Regions from separate parts of the Homo sapiens genome. Here region 2 is linked to region 1. The links are contacts of gene promoters, found by promoter capture Hi-C in human tissues and cell types (Jung and others, 2019). All regions are on one chromosome and are shown on one strand. Each heading gives the region's core, a stretch centred on a gene start or on the middle of the fragment in contact. The rest is flanking DNA. Distances are from core to core; before and after follow the strand shown. Region 1 holds the start of AQP4 (aquaporin 4). Region 2 overlaps LOC107985126 (a long non-coding RNA gene).

Region 1 (4,540 bases), core at 1,015-3,514:
GTGGGAAATTTCTGCCCCTAGTCCAAAGAAAAGCCAGATAAGTAGCTGATTATTGCATAGAGCTGACAGTATCACAGGAAGATCAGTAGTAGCAGCTCAAGTACAAAAAGGTTAATTAGCAATACTTAATAAGAAAAACTACCTCTGGCAGGTGAAGAGTTAATCCCTGGTCAATTTTAAGCTACTCTGCTGAGAGTACTAATAAGTGTAGGGGTTGGAGCCAATGAGGGTGACCCCTTCCTTGATGGGAACAGTCATCCCTTAGGAACTGCCCTGGAAAGCATCAGCCAGCCAGAAAACAGGGAAAGAGGCTGAGAAACCGTGGTAACCAAGTTTTGCTGGCACTTTGTAAAATGGTAACTGCAACTGCCGAGGCTGTGCAGAGAATGCTAATAAGCCTAGGACAACCTGTAAAGAGTGGACCTAGAAAATGTCCACCCACCGACCAGACCGGTAGCCCTAAAGAGCCCCACTCTGTAGATTCCTGAGGATCTGCCCACCGTACTCATTCACAAGGAAGCCCCTAAACATGGCTACATTGTGCCTTAGCTTCACAGCCCTCAAAATACTTCTGACTCAAATGTCTTAGGGTCAGAGTAATGACATTTAGCACATCTGCCTAGAAACTCACAGTTTTCCAATTTGTAACAAACATTTTGCACCTTTTAAAAATCTCATTCTAAAATCCAAATGGTAAACAGCTTTAAGAATCAATATGAAATGTTTTAAGTGTTCTCTGTGGCTTCATATAAATTCTCCCTGCCCCTCTCATCAGAATTTATTCTGACTTTCAGGGAGCATATTAAAGGTAGAAACCACTGATGTACAATAATAAGTGTGCAACCATATTCTTAAGAATCTAAATTCAATCTTGGTTAGCTGAGAATGCTTGAAACAGTAATAAAGTGCTCCTCTGAAAGTCACACTCAAATTTTGAATTCCTCTTTCTAATGAGAGCTCTTCACCCATTCCCATGTCTCAAGTACGCAAATGAAAACAAAACAAAAAAACTGTAACTGGGATTTAAAAGTATAACAGTCTTTCTTCTCTCATGTATTTCTTTCTTGTCATACTTCATTCTGGAAAAAAATAATCCAATCTGAAATATAAAGTGGGAAAAGGGAGGCATCCGTAGGTAATGTGAGTTATTATCATTGTTCTAGATGTTGGGTTGAGTGGTGGGTTCATAGATGTTCATTACATTATTTAAAAGCCATTATAATTAACTATTAGAAAATAAGAGGGCCATACATGCACGAGTGATGACAGAGTGTCATAAATCAGGAATTCTGATTATTCCAATCCCATGCACCTAAGATCTGTTTAAAGAAAAAATAATAATGAGATGGTGATGCAGGTAGCTAATGGTTAGACCCTTCTAGAGTTCACCAAACTCCTTCGGCAGGGACGTCTTCATAAGCATGCAGCCTGCGCAGCTGCACAAGGTCCTGCCTTTAGGAGCACCCAGCCTTTATTTATGCTCTGCTGTCGCAATCTTGAAATTTAAATAGTGTTTTACCAAGGTGTCCTGCATTCATTTTGCACTGGGACCAGTAAATTATAAAATCAGTCCTGTCCCTAAGTTTCCAGAGGTTAAATTTACCTACAGTTCCCCATAATTTCGTCCCCATCCAACTTTGATATTTTTTAAGTTTGCTACTTCTTATCCCCAGATTATTAATGTAACAGTCAGGTGAGCACCCTAGAGCAGTCTTTTTTCCTGTATTTCCTATGTTTCCTTATTTTTATTGTCCAAATCAGTGCTGCCTGTGCTATAAATGGAGCTGCAGTTATATATTGTTCTTATAATGCTTCTTCTCAGATCAAAAACTTCAAACAGAATTCATTGGCTAAAAACTAAATGCACTGAAGTCTCTATCTAAATTCATGTTAACTGCTGGATTATACAAATTCATTTTCTAATAATTGCCCAATTTCAACTACAACATATAACCAAACAAGACAAATTCTGAACAATTCTTCATGGTAGAAAGAATTCAAATAAAGATTTAAGGAAATCCTCATTTTCAAAAATTACTGTCTCAAAAAAAAAAAAATTAAGTAAATGTTTTTGCATTCCTGAAATGCCCTGTGTCTACAGTGATCAGGTACAGAAAAGCTACTTCAAGTTCAAATATAACTTAGCGATTGCCACATGGTGCAGAATCTTTCCACCCCTAACACTCCAAAAACCCAATCAGACAAGTGGCCGTAATCTGACTCCCAGCACACAGGGAGCTGCGGGGCAGGCAATGAGAGCTGCACTCTGGCTGGGGAAGGCATGAGTGACAGACCCACAGCAAGGCGGTGGGGGTAAGTCCTTCTTTGCCTTAAGGGAACAACGCTTAGGGCCAAAAGATGAAACTGTCTCTTTTATTATAGATGTTTGTGCCTTCTTAGGCAGAATCTGGAAGGCAGCTATAGGGCAGGTGGGTGGTTCTTTTAGATCTGAGTACTGGGCATTTTCAGAAGAGAGGCATAGAGAAGGTAGAAGAAAAGGGATGCTTTTTAGCCAAATCCTCCATATGTTTCAGATCTGCAAAAGCCCAGGAAAATTACCCTATGGAGGTGAATCTAGCTATAGTACATTTCTTCGGAAAAATTACTCACCCAGACGCTCAGCTGTCCTGGAGTGGATGAAGCTGAGTGTTCAGCTAGAAAGTAATGTGTCCGATTCAGTACATCAACAAACCCGCTTTGTTCTGGGGCAAAAGAAGCAAATCTAATTGTGTTGATCATTTCCAGTGACTGTGAACATATAAGGGAACACTGACAATAAAAGCAGGGTGCTATGGGTGACGCTAGGGTGAGCCCTCATAAGGCCAGAGATATGTATATGCTGCCAGCAAACTTCACGGTTCACAGCCAAGTGAGGCTGGTCCATCTGCCTTGGAAGAAGATCAGATTTTTGTGGATTTAAAAAAAAAAAAAAGCTAAAAACATTCTTAAAGAGCATGTTTATGTTTTGTGTTGGTGTTTTGCACTGTTTTAAATTTCTCTGGTTGATGAATATTTGAAGCTGAAAGAGCAACTACCTCTGGAGAGGTAAACAGGTGCATGACAGGCCAAGCAGGGAGAGAACTCCGGAAATGGCAGAAGTGAGAGGTGAAGGGGGTGAGCAGCGGGGCTGGCCTTTTCTGGGTCCCACCTCTTCTGGTGTCTCCTGCGGGGCTGAAAAGGACGTTTCCTGCCCACCTAGCTTCCTTAGCCTACTGTTTTGTCCTCCTCCTTCTCCCCTAACCCTGACCACAAACGACAGCACCTATGATCGCATTTTGCCCCCTTTGCCATCCCGGCTACAGCCCTGGGCTGCCGGTGAGTTCAGAAGTGACTCTCCTAACTTCTTCAATATGTGACTTTTCTGAGTTTACCGTCTTTGGGAATATTTTTAGTGTCTCCTCCAGGGTGCCCTCCCTGCCCCATTGCAACCATCGTTTTTGTCTCTTTACATTCTTTTCCTCTAGAGAGTATGATGTCGTTGTCATCCCACCTGGGGTTTTTCATACTTCTGAGATTCGCTTCACTGGGGCAGGGGATGCGTGGGATGTGGCTGGCCACCCCCCTGTGGAGCCAGCTCTTCCTTTATCCTGCCACCCGGGCCTGGGCAAGAAAGGGTTTTTCTCTCTCCACCTCTAAAGCAAAGCCCCATAGCAAACTAAGGGCTAGGCTGAGCTGGAAATTCCCCTCACCCTTTTTGGCACTGCATTTCCTCACTACCCACGCAGAAAGCAGGTTCCCGGGAACATTCAGTGACATGGGGAAATGAGGGCCCCGCAATTTGTCAAAGGGAAAGCCACAATAATACTAATCTCTTAAAGTACTTGGCTTTCTTGCCTAACCCCTTACGTGGTCCTCTGCAATTAGATTCTCTGGTAAATACTCTCCATACTTCTTGGCTCTCATGACTATCACAGGCAAAGGACAAGGGCAAAAGTCTTAGATGATAGGGTAACTGGGGTAATTGCCCCCCCCCCCCAAAAGGGGAATCCTAGCCATTTCCTGCCAGAATGAGCAGTTGGCATCAATATCGTCAAACCACCCCTTCTCTGCTCCAAAGATCTAATGACAGCAAGAGGGATATAGACGGGAGGAGAAGGCGTCCTCCCTCTCCCAGACTCCCTGCCCACCACCCTCCCCAGAGAAGCTCCACAAGGTGAGACACACTGTCCTATAGGCCCATGTAACAGAAAGCCATCAAAAAGACCGTAGAGAAAAGCCGTTTTCCATAGAGCCTTCTGCTCAGGGGCCCACAGTTTCCCTAACCACACCCGCTTTTCCTGACTTCCCGAGCTCTGCACCATGAAGGCAGGAAAGGTACCGGGGCATTGCTGGCACACCCCAGCCTCCAGGCTCCCTTTGGCAGGTTTATCTGCATTGTACGGTCAGGGTCAAGGGGTGAGAGAGGGTCGGGCACGAGGAGAGGCTGTCCTTCCTCCCCTAAAAGCATCCCCCACTCCCATCTCTCCCCACCTCCAGCGGCCAGGATGCACCGGGCCGGCGGGCAGGCGGGCGAGCTCGCGGGGCCGCTTCTGCGTGTGCA
Region 2 (4,498 bases), core at 1,668-4,167, 720 kb before region 1:
GTAGAGATGGGATTTCACCATGTTGGCCAGTCTGGTCTCAAACTCCTGACCTTGGGTGATCTGCCTGCCTTGGCCTCCCAAAGTGCTGGGATTACAGGCACGAGCCACCAGGCATGGCTATAAAATATATTTTAATCATCTGTGAAAGCAAAATATGGCAATAGAGTTCACATTTGCATTTCCATAGGCTCTGTGTCTGTCTCTCCTATATTTTCTTTGTTTCCACAAATAAAAATTATGAGACATCCTAATTGTTTCTATTACTAATAGAAAAATCAGTGCATTTATCAGAACCCAAACTGAGCTCTTTTGGCTTTGCCTAGTGGTCTATTTATGTATTCAATATTATTAAACATATTGGGAGACAAAAATACATTGGGGTCAATGCTTTATTAACGTTATCACATATGTTATCTGTTTCCACTCCTGAGGGACGTCACCCACATGCTTATACCATCTTAATAGTCAACATTAACAATGGCTTTTTAAATCCCAACTTGTTCTCTTTATCCTTTCACACATCTGTCCTATTTTGAAAAGCAACAAAACAGATCTCCTTATATACACTATTACTCTAATCACCTCCCTTTCTTGTTTTAACACAGTCATACATTTTAAAATGTGTGTCACTGATTTTTAAAATAAATGTATATCTCTTTTGTCACTCCCTAAAACCTGGTTTCTAGTAGAAAATGGGAAAAATAACTGTGAGTAGAAAAATATTTCTCAGACAATATACAAAAGAATGATCCTTAATGTAAAAGACTGACACTACTGAGAACATTAAAAAATAAAAAAGTCTTTTCAGCAAAAGACACCATAAACGAAAGACAAACCTTAGATAGGGAGAAGATGTATAACCCAAATAATCAATAAGTAATTACTGCATAAAATATATAAATAAAACTTAAATCAGAAAAAAGACCAACAACTCAATAGAAATAGACAAAGTGATATGAATAGTGAATTCACAGATGAGGAATTGTGAATTGTCAAGAATATTTGACTCTATGCTACGTCTCACCAATAGTCAGGGAAATGCCATCAATAAAAGCAATGCAATATCACTAAATAACAATTCAATTGGAAAAATGTTCGCTAGTTGAGACAGAGGATTGAGGAAACTTGAACTCCTAGTATAAATTGGTACAACTACTATGAAAATCATATATCTCTTTCTCTATATATCCATAAACTAGAAGTTCCATTCCTAGGTACACACCTTGGAAACTCTTGTATATGTAAGTGAAGATATAAATGCCAAAATGCTCATTGCATCACTATGTGTGATAGCAAAGAGAAGAAGAAAGAACAAAGAAAAGTAGAAATAACCTGAGAATAGTTGAGTTGTATGTATTTATTCAATAAAATACTATATAATGGTTTAAATAAATGAATTATAACCATAAATATCTACCTTAAAAAATTCTCAAAGTCTTGATTGAAATAATAATTTAATCATTCATGCCATCAGAGTTTATATTAAGTTAATAAATGCAAAACACTACTACGTATGATTTTTGAATGCATACATATGTAGTAGAAGTATAAAAATTATGCAGGGGAATGATAAATGTAGCATAGTGTTTTCCTCTGAAGAAAGAGTAGATTATGATTGGGGAAGAGGATACTGAGGTTTAATGTGTATGTAGAACATTTTATTATTCTTATAAATCTGTTGTGAATAAAGAAAAATATTAAGTCAATAGTTTTGTGATGAGTAAGGACACTATGTCCATGATATTGTTCTTTGTAACTTTAGTATGTTTGTCACGTTTCATGAGAAATATATTTCAAAAAAGAAATATGATCTTAATTTGTGTTGGGCTATGGAAACTGATCTCTGAAGGTAACTAGCAGTGTCCTTCTTGTCAACTTCAAAAATATTTTCTTCATTCCTTGCTCTTTGAAAGACTGAAAAATTCTGTAGACAAATTCAAGAAACTACCTCCTTTTTCCCCCTTTCTCGTTAGTGCATTATTCTGCTACTTCTCAGTATCATGGTTGAATCCGATAATATCTTAATATATCCTGTAGATAAATAAACATCCTTCTATATTTAAGGCCCTAATTCTGTAACTATAGGTTTCAAATTTTCAGTGGAACAATATACTAAACTCTTCAAAAAATTAGTCAGCTGTTTACTAATGAGCTGAAACCCAAGATTAGTAAAACAATATTGGTCAATACATTTTTTTCATCATATTGTCCAACTTGAGACTTTAAAAAGCATATCTTCCAAAGAGAACTCTTGTACTGTTAATTTGTATATAGTATAACTAAGATATTTTTCCATTCCCTATAAGAAAAAGGAAACAAATGAGAGAAAAAAATTAAAATTATCAATTGGGAATATTTAATTGGAAGAATTATTATCAGATATTTAATAATCTATTTTATTCATAAAATGATGAAAGCACGAATGTATGTTTTCAAAGGGATTTTTGATACCAAGTTCCTTTGATGCTTTGAGGCACTCAGCTGTGGAATGGGTGGCTTCTAATTATAAAAGAAATGCCATGAATTGACTCATTCTTGACAGTAATATCCAGAAAATCTTAGCAAATTCTAGATAATTTTTAAAGTACTGAATTATATTTGAAAACTTATATTTAAAAAAATTTATTCTAAGATATATATCGCTTTTTATAATTAATTTATACTTTGTTTCAGGAAAAGTACAAGTTAATGCACATGTGTGTAAATATGTCTATACATACATAATGCATGCATACATACATGCTGTGGGAATGAGTTAATCATGTTGAAAAGCAATTAATCATTTGGAGCATTGTGTTAGTCCATTTTGCATCACTGTGAAGGAATACCTGGGGCTTGGTAATTTATAAAGAAAAGAGGTTTGTTTGGGTTCACAGTTCTGCAGGCTATATGAGAAGCACAGTGCCAGCATCTGCTCCCAGTGAGGCCTCAGGAAACTTCTAATCATGGCAGAAAACAAAGGGAGAACCAGCAAATCACAAGGCAAGAGAGAGAGTGAGAGAGAGGGGAAGGTCCCAGGCTCCCAACCAGATCTTGCATTGACTGATTACCACGGGGAGGGCGCTAAGCTGTTCATGAGGGATCTGCCCCCATGACTCAAACATATCCCACTAGGCCCACCTCCAACATTAGAGGTCATACTTAAACATGAGATTTGGAGGGGATGAAACAGCCAACCCATATCAAGCATACAGGTGTAACTGGCCAACAATGTCCACCCTAAGACAACTATTAAAATGTCAGAGAATGATTTAAAGAAAGCATACAATGTATGGTGTGTAGCTTTTCACACCCCATTTTAGAAAATAAAAAGTTTGCATATGTCTTGTATCAATTATAGCTGGTCCTAGGTAACAGAGCCCAATTCTCAAATTCAGTTGATGGGGAAAAACAATTTGCATTTATAAAACTGAACATGCTAGATGCAAATGGAGCTATGGGTGAAGCTTGACCCAAGGCTCACAATGCACAGGATGGCATCAGGACTAGTTTCTCCTTTCCTGTTTCTAGGTGATGCTTTCCTGGTTGGCTCATGGTTTTAAGAGGACTTCCAAAAGTTCTTAGTGTAAAGGAATAGAGATTTAGGTGAAGAATATGAGTCTCTTTCAGAAGACTCGGTAAAAAATATCAGTGCGACTTGGTGGTTCTGATTGGTCACCTCTCCAAGAATATAAAGGTTTGATTGACAAGACTTGGGTTACGTGCCTTCTCTTGGAGCTAAGGTAGTATTCACTTCCTTGAAAGTACACCAAACTGGGAGGAGTGGGTAGACCTCAACAGAAAATATCAAAAGAGCAAATGGATACTGCACAAAGGGGAATAAAAACATTATCCATCCTCCTCACCACAGTTATGTCACCTCCTCCTCATGGAAGTATGGTGTTTCCAAAGCTTAGTCCTCAATGTACTATCTTGGGCTCTTCTATCTCATTTGAGGACTCATTCACTTTCAGTCCTCAAGTGCTGATTTTTGGCTAGACTCCCAAGTTTAGATCTATAGTCTGCCTTGCAGTTCTGAGTTCATCATTTGTTTATGGATATTTAATAATCCACTGTCAAATTGGAGTCTGGAAACTGGGATAACATAAACCCTGGAGGTATAGAACAAACATTTCACAGAGTACTTCTGTATAGCGAGTTTTATGAGCACTAATTGATAGATTATCAAATTCCAGTTGTGCTTTTCCCAAAAGTAGGTCTGCCTGAGAAGGGGCTTATATTCATACTAGTCTTGTCACCATTGCAGCAACAAAGGGCAAACTTTATACTCTTTCAAAATTATACTGGGGTGGTTAGCTCTGGGCTATCCATTAAAACTTTCTGGGCATTAAAATAGTCATAATTTAAAGTACTGGTTTTAATAATATCTCCATTTTTGATTAATTAAAATATCTTAAATCTGAATGGCTTTCGTTCTCTGTTATTCATGTCTGTTAAAGATGAGATGTTCCCTACCTTAGAATGTTCTGAATTCAGAAAAACCTAAGGAGTACAGGTA

What was found. Contacts are between HindIII fragments. The study calls those that stand out against the background at their distance.
Region 2: a contact is called between a fragment that was not itself captured here and the fragment with the promoter of AQP4 in region 1, in 2 of the 25 tissues and cell types used here (dorsolateral prefrontal cortex and lymphoblastoid cells).

The regions. Positions count from the first base shown.
Region 1 is chr18:26,863,431-26,867,970 of GRCh38, reverse strand. It overlaps AQP4 (aquaporin 4), which reads left to right and starts at 2,264. Exons shown (of 5, transcript NM_001650.7): 1 at 2,264-2,313. The coding sequence starts at 2,282. It overlaps AQP4-AS1 (AQP4 antisense RNA 1), which reads right to left and starts at 2,663. Exons shown (of 8, transcript NR_026908.1): 1 at 2,611-2,663. RefSeq lists an enhancer at 4,515-4,540. The HindIII fragment of the contact is 8,928 bases long and covers 1-4,540 here.
Region 2 is chr18:27,587,509-27,592,006 of GRCh38, reverse strand. The region is part of intron 1 of LOC107985126 (a long non-coding RNA gene); the gene reads left to right. Among named protein-coding and RNA genes, the nearest start is that of CDH2-AS1, 330 kb to the left of the region's middle. The HindIII fragment of the contact is 6,214 bases long and covers 1-4,498 here.